2 separate regions of the Homo sapiens genome follow, and region 1 is linked to region 2. Evidence: promoter capture Hi-C in 16 types of primary human blood cells and fetal thymus (Javierre and others, 2016). All regions are on one chromosome and are shown on one strand. Each heading gives the region's core, a stretch centred on a gene start or on the middle of the fragment in contact. The rest is flanking DNA. Distances are from core to core; before and after follow the strand shown.

Region 1 (3,469 bases), core at 484-2,983, 230 kb after region 2:
TTTCTTGTGGCCACGGGTCCACAGCACCACAGTTGTTTCTAGAGTCCAATTTACGGACGGCGTAAAATTTCATGATGCTGATGATCCAGAACATCCTCCACCAGTCCCATTATTGGACGTGTAAATCACACCGGCAGTGCCTCGTTACCCGCAGTTCACTTTCTGCAGTTTGTTACCTGCAGACAGCTACAGTATGAAAATATTAAGCTATTCTGAGGGAGAGGCCACAGCCACATCACTTCTGTTACAGTATAGTGTTATGATTGTATCTTATTATTAGTTATTGTTATAAATATCTTATTGTGCCTAATTTAGAAATTGAAGTTTATCGTAGGGATTTCCGTCTAGAAAAATCACAGTATAATCGGGTTTCGGACTACTCCACGTTTCAGGCCTCCACTGGGTTGGGGGGTCTTGAAACGTATCCTCTCAGAGAAGGGGGGGCTACCGTATAATTTTTTGCTTATTACATAAAGGGCTGCAGTGAACATTTTGTGCCTAAAACATTTTTCTGCGTTTAGGATTTTTCCCTAAGATGAGTATATTTACATGAAATGACTAGGGAATTTTCACTTTTAATATTTTAAGAATACACGTTAGAGTATTGCCCTCCAGAAGAAGCTTCACACAACGACAAGTGTGTAAGACTGCATACATCAGGTTTGCCGATGCTTTCAGGAACTGTGACAGGCTCTTCCACAGAGCAGGGAAAATGTGATCAGTTTATCAGGGATGGTTTTGAGCAAACTGAGTGTCGCTTTACACACAGAGAGTGAAGAAGGGGGACCCTCGGATGCACAGCCACATGCTGGGGCCTCCCTGTGTGCTGTCTTCATTGAGCACTTGCTGTGTGCTTTGCCCAGGTTACCTAAGAGTGAACGTAAACCAACCATCAGTGGCGCAGGAGACACGGCCATGGCTCAGCACGGGGGGAGCCGTCCAGTCACGCTGAGGGCTGTGCTGATCTGGAAATGGTTTCAGAATAGGAGATGCAGTTCACGTGGCCTTGACAGCCAGGCAGCCCTTGGAGGGACCGCCCACCAGGGTGCAGGTGGGAAGCGTGGTCAAGGCTGGAAACAGCAGCCCATGCCGCACGGAGGATGGGAGCAGCGTGGGAGGCTCCTGTGTTTGATGCCCTTTACCGGCTTCTGTGGGCCCCATTTCCATCTTCTGGGTTTTCACGGCACGGTGTCCCCAATTCAGAATGACTATGGAACGCCTGGGTCCGGCCCCACTTCCTCCTTCCCAGCAGCCCTTCCTTCAGCTCCCTGTGCCTCAGGGCTTGTCCCTGCAAAATGGCAGCAGTAACAGGACCCATCTCCAAGGGCTGCTGTGGAACTGAGAGCAATGTTTTGTGTATCCCAGGTTGAGGCTCTCGGGTGGGCCCCTGCTGACGTGGGGTCGCTGTTAGGGAGGCTCCTGTGGCCCAACTCTGCCCCCACCGCCCGTGGCCCCTGCACAGCATGTTCCTCTGCCCCGGCTTGAGGACACTGTCCTGGCCCTTTGCCCGGTTGGCCTCTGCCCATCCCTCAGGCCCCAGCCCTCCTGTTACCTCCTGACCACTGGTCGAAAGCGACCTTCTCTAGGTAAACATTCTACCAGGAGGCTCATTATCCCCGCCAGCCTACTGTTAGACATTCAGGATCTCACGAGATTTATTTTAAATTAAAAGCTCACTAATGTTAAGGATATGAATAGTTTTTAATTTTGAAGCCTTGGTGCATTTTTAAAGACTATCCACTGTAATACATTTCACAATTGCCTGAGTGAATGGTGGAAATGATTTAACCAGGCAGACACCTGGACTTGTGGGACCACATAAAGAGTTTTAAGATCCGTGAACGTGTGGGAAGCACGGAACGCTTTTTCTGACCTCTGTGAAGCCTGGCATGGCTTCCTTAGTGGCATGGAGGCTTGCAGCCGCTGGACAGGCCGGGGCACACAGCCTGGGGTGGTGGCCTCCTGCGCTCTCCATCCTGGCCGGCACCGAGGCCCAGACATGCAGGACTGCGGTGCAGCCATCCCGAGGTGCTGCGGGTACTTCCCGTGCTTGTGGACGTCTGCCGCCGAGGACCTGCTCCCCGGGACGGAGGCGTCTGCCGCCGAGGACCTGCTCCCCGGGACGGAGGCGTCTGCCGCCGAGGACCTGCTCCCCGGGACGGAGGCGTCTGCCGCCGAGGACCTGCTCCCCGGGACGTCTGTGTCTGATAGTTGTGAAGATGCTTCACCATCATCAGCGCCTGCGCTCACAGACTAGGAGCTTGAGTCTCCTGTGTCCAGAAGACCTGCACCCCTCACGCCAGGGCGGGTTTAGGGGTGTCACCCCTCGAGCGGGGTGGGTTTAGTGGTCTTTGGATGACAGCCACACGTTGCTCCCCAGCTTTTGTAAGGCCACCGAGGCCTGGGAACATCTTCCCCGAGCTCAGCAAGCCCCCAAGAAAGGAGAGGTAGAGTGCCCTTCTTCCCGGTGTGACGTACAACACATTGCTTCCCAGACTTCAGCGCAGCCCCGGGCCGCCAAGCAGCCTGGCTGAGGCCTGGGTACCAGGTGTTGGGGGCCGGGACAAGGCCCCTGAAAAGGGCAAACTCAGGACCCTCCCGTGCCGCTCTCAGGTGGTGGGGCCCGCAGGCAGACAAGGAGTTGGTGTAGCTGAAAACACGGCTTCCTCACTTAAACCTCTGCGTCATAGGTGTCTTTGTGTCATCGTGTGACTTGTATTTGTTAAACCTCTACCCAGTAATATTTTAAATGCCTTTGAATTTCATGAATGTACACAGCTGCTTCCCTTACAGATCTCCATCTTTTCAAAAACTGTTTATATCTGCAGGATCCTGGGAAGCTTATTGAAATGGAATGTCTGGAGTGTGAATCGGAAGCTTTAAGACTTGAAAGTAAGATGAAAGTGTACAACCGAGCGGCTGTTGAGGTCAGTCCTTACGCAGGAGTCATACACCTGGCATTATTTTGCAGATTCCTGGAGCTTGGTGCAAGTTGAGTGTGTCCCAGGCTTGAGGGTGCTGGGGACATGGCCTGGACCCCACTGCTAGACTCGCCCTGGCTCCCGTGACAGCGGGTGTGAGTCCAGCCTCCAGTGCCACACTCCCTGTCCTGCGCACAGGGGCCTACACGCCGCCCTGGTGGGGTGGGGTCGTGCAGGTGGGGGCTGGGATGCGACTCCCTCTGACCCTCCTCCTGCAGCCCCCACGGAGCTGCCCCCTCCCCGCCGTGTGGTGATGCCTGCCTGGGAGGACGGGGGACGGCCACGCGTCCCATGAGGGCTTTCTGCCAGCCTCACTTGAGTCCGGGAAGGCGTCCTAATGATGAGGGGCAAAAGCCACCGCCGGCCCTGGCGTCAGGTGCCAATTACAGGCACTTGACCCACCTCTGTCCTGCTGTCTGAGACGACAGGCTCTGGAATAGCAGCCACTACCAGGAAAGGAACTAGGAATCCTTTTAGACTCTTCCTCA
Region 2 (3,518 bases), core at 720-3,219:
GGGCCAGGGACCACCCGATGCTTTCCAGGAGTGTCTGCGAAGGGCCCACCTGAACGTTCCCACTGCACGCTGCAAACTCGGTGGGATGACAGTTCACCTGGAGGCCTTGGTGGACGTCACAGGATGGAGCCACCCACCCCAGTACTGTGCCGGCCGGGAGCTGTCCGGCCGGCCCGAGGACACTGGTGTGTGCGTGGGGGTGGGGAGCGGGAGTGGGGAGTGTGCAGAAAGACAGCCTGTGGCTCCAAGTGGGCTCGCGCCTGGCGCGGCGTGTTGTGTGCGTGGCACCGGCTGCTGCCTCCGTGTGCGGAGCGGGGAGGCCCTCAAGGCTCAGGCCTCTGATGCACGAAGGAGCTGTGGGAAGAGCTGCGTCCTCAGGGCCGCCTCCTAACAGATACCCTGGGATGTGTCCTGGGGCGTTTCTGAAGGCTGCGGGCTGCCCCTCCCTCTCGGTCAGAGCCGAGGTGATCTTGGAAGCTTTATTGCCTCCCCTGGCTGCTCCTCTCTGCAGCCTTCAACTGCACCGAATCCAGGCCATGGTGGGGGCGGGGGCATCGCCAACCCCCGCACAGCCTCAGCTGTTTCTAGGTGGCTGGGCCGAGGGCCTCCTGGGGCTGAACCTTCCCAGAAGGACGGTGCTTCCACAGCAGAAACTCCCGGTCCCTTCAGAGCCCACTCCCCTGGGGCAGCAGGTGGGGACTGCGAGGGGGTCAGGCCCGCGGCTGCTGCAGCCGGGATTCCCTGCTCCAGGCTTACTTGGCCGGCTTTAAAGAGAGGGCGCCACAACATCCCACTAATGGCTGCAGGTGACGACGCTGTCACCCGGAGACGCAGGCGCCCAGCGTCTGGGCTCTTGCCTGTTGGAGGTTTGGCAGATCTCGGATCCCTGGAGGGTGAGGGTCCCTCTGGGAGCTGCTGTATCCCCTGGGGGCCACCTCTCATGCTTCCGGGCCTGGCTTGTCCACTCCATCCCAGCCAAGCCAGAGCTGAGCTACAGGGTCAGACCCAGCCAAGGTGGCGTCTGGGCAGCCGGTGCTGTAGGGTGGGCGGTCCATGAGCAGAAGCGCCAGGGTATGCAGATGGCAGGCAGAGCCCCTCTGCACCTTGCGGGGTAGGGGGGTCTTGGGTGAAGGCCCGGAAAACCAGAGAGCAGGAAGCAGCTCTCAGTCTCGGGGGGCAGTCATCCAGCGCTCCCCCCACCCCCCGCTCCTGAACCTCAGCTCCGGGGACCTCATCCCCCAGCTCCTGAGCGGCGCCTGATTGGACTCTGCTGCTCTGCACCCCGCTGGCCTCCTGGGGCCCGGCAGGGAGTAAGCAGACCCCCCTCCGTCCTCCTTGCTGCCCCCACACTGTCCCGCCAGGGTTTCCACCAGGAGCTACCGCGCACCAACTTCTGCAGGGGCTGCCCACCCGCCGCCGTCCCGTGCGCATTCGGGGGTGCTGTCCCCTCCGGGTGAAAATCCTAACGCGGGGGCTGAGAACGGCGGTGGGAACCCCTCGGCCATGGAGGGCGCCTGGGGAGGCGGGAGCTCACAGCCCCTCCCGGGTCCTCCCCCCGGGCGCTCTCCGCGGACCCCTCGGCGGCGGAAGGGGCCCCCCAGTGGGGCCGGGGGCTCACCTCGTCCTCGGGGAGGGTGGGCAGCGGCTCGAAGTCGTAGAAGTCCAGGTCTTTGCCGTCCTCCTCGTAAAGATCCGCCGCGGCCGGGTCCATGGCCTGCATCCTGCGGCCGCGCCGCGCACCGCCCCCGGGGCCTCCGGCTGGGCTGGGCTGGGCTCGGCTACGCGCGCCCTGGCTCCATGGAGACGCGCCCGGCCCTCGCCCGCCCCCGCCCGCCCGCCGCTGCCGCAGTGTCTCCAGGGGACGCGGTCAGGGATACGGGGCGGGCCCGGGGGGCGCGGGGGGCGCGGGGTGCGCGGGGGCTGCGCGGCGCTGTCCGGACCCGGCGCCTAGGGAACGTCGCTCCTTCCTGGGGGAGGCACCGGGGGCGGAGCCAGGCGTGTGGCCTCCGCGGGGAGCCACGGGGTCTGCGCCCCACCTGGGCCCCAAGGGTCGAGGGGCGGAGCCGGCGCCCAGGAAAGCTCGGACGGGCAGACCCCCTCGCCGGCTCCCGCCGCCCCCGTCCCACCCCCGCTGCTGCCGGGCGGGGCTGCCGCAGTCCCGGGGTGGCCTCTGCAGCGGCGTTGGGCAGGGCCGGGCGGGGCCCGGGGTGGGGGGCGGGGCCCGGGGTGGGGGGCGGGGCGGTCGCTGGGCCGGGGTCTCTCCTGAGCGAGGGTCTTTCGGAGGCCCGGGGATGTTGGGGGTGGGGCAATAACGCTGCCTCATCCCCACCTGGAGGCATCGGAGAGACCCACTGGGCACCCGACCCTCCCCGGTCCTGGGGGACCCTGGGGGGTCCTGGGGCTCTTGACCTCTTCCTGCCCCAAAGGCCCCCCGGGGCTTTCTTCAGCGCCAGGGTGACCCCGGCCCACGGTAGTGCCGCGGTCAGAAGAGCCAGGATAGCCCCAAGCTCGGCCAAGAGGCAGGGAGGGTGGAGGAGAATCTCACCTTCCCCGGCCACCCCCAGAACTCCCACAGGAGAGAGGGCGGCTTCAGGGCCCGGCTGTCAGCTCCCCGTCCGTGTGGCTGGCCAGGCACACAGTAGGTACTTAATCCATGCTCCTGGCTTGAAGGAGCAGCAGGGCTTTTGACCGCAGAGTGGGAGGGTGCAGTGTGTTCAGGGACGTGAATTCCCAGCACTCTGTCCCCTGGTCGGTCACCCGGGCTGTCACTCTGGCCTGGCAGGGAGTTCAGGGGCTCAGCTCCCCGGGAGCCAGGTGGGCACTGAAGCCGGAGGCTGGGAGTGGGGCAGGTGCTGGGCAGACTCCCTGCGTCCAGCCAGGCAGCCCCACCTTATTGAAAATGCCCACCCTGGGGCCCACCCTGGTCCACCGAGTCAGCAGTCAGGTGCAGCCTCCCCCATCCTTGGGTGTTTGGAAGCTTGGGCAGCAAGCCAAGGTGGAGTGGGCTGGAGCTGGAGAGGAGGAGTCTCACAGAGGGTGGCCTCAGCCAGCTGTCCCTGAGCTCTCTCTCTGTGGGCCCCACAGGGCCTGCAGCGCCCCAGTCCCTGTCTTGGAAGGAGGCGGAAGTGGCAGGCAGACTCTGCTCCAGGAGCCTGATCCCGCTGCACCCTGGTGCTCAGACCTGGACATTGGAGCTGAGCCCCTGGGCTCCTGGGCCCTCTGCTGCAGGGCTGGGGCCGCCTCCTTTGTCAGGTCTGGATGTGCCCCTGACGCCTCTCAGCTGCCACCCAGACTTGTGCCTCCGGGGGAACGCCGGGCTGACGTGACCCCAAAGGGAAGGCACCAGGGACCCCACAAGCACAGGACTTTGTCACCGAGTGCCCAGGTCACCTCACGGGCTTGGGGTGAGGATATAGACACTGAATAGGGGGCAAAGGTAACCCCATAATTTGGGGGGCAGCCATAGGGCAAGCACTCCTGGAAAGACGTGCATGCGGTTGGTAAAATGCAGAACTCAC

Evidence for each region. Contacts are between HindIII fragments. The CHiCAGO score rates a contact against its expected background, and 5 or more counts as called.
Region 1: a fragment that was not itself captured here is called in contact with the fragment with the promoter of KNDC1 in region 2 in 2 of 17 cell types (M1 macrophages and M0 macrophages); the score reaches 5.5 in M1 macrophages.

The regions. Positions count from the first base shown.
Region 1 is chr10:132,926,026-132,929,494 of GRCh38, reverse strand. It overlaps CFAP46 (cilia and flagella associated protein 46), which reads left to right. Exons shown (of 58, transcript NM_001200049.3): 10 at 2,829-2,927. Among named protein-coding and RNA genes, the nearest start is that of CFAP46, 15 kb to the left of the region's middle. The HindIII fragment of the contact is 2,219 bases long and covers 624-2,842 here.
Region 2 is chr10:133,158,670-133,162,187 of GRCh38, reverse strand. KNDC1 (kinase non-catalytic C-lobe domain containing 1) reads right to left here and starts at 1,969. Exons shown (of 30, transcript NM_152643.8): 1 at 1,619-1,969. The coding sequence starts at 1,720. RefSeq lists enhancers at 418-1,008, 1,009-1,598. The HindIII fragment of the contact is 2,500 bases long and covers 480-2,979 here.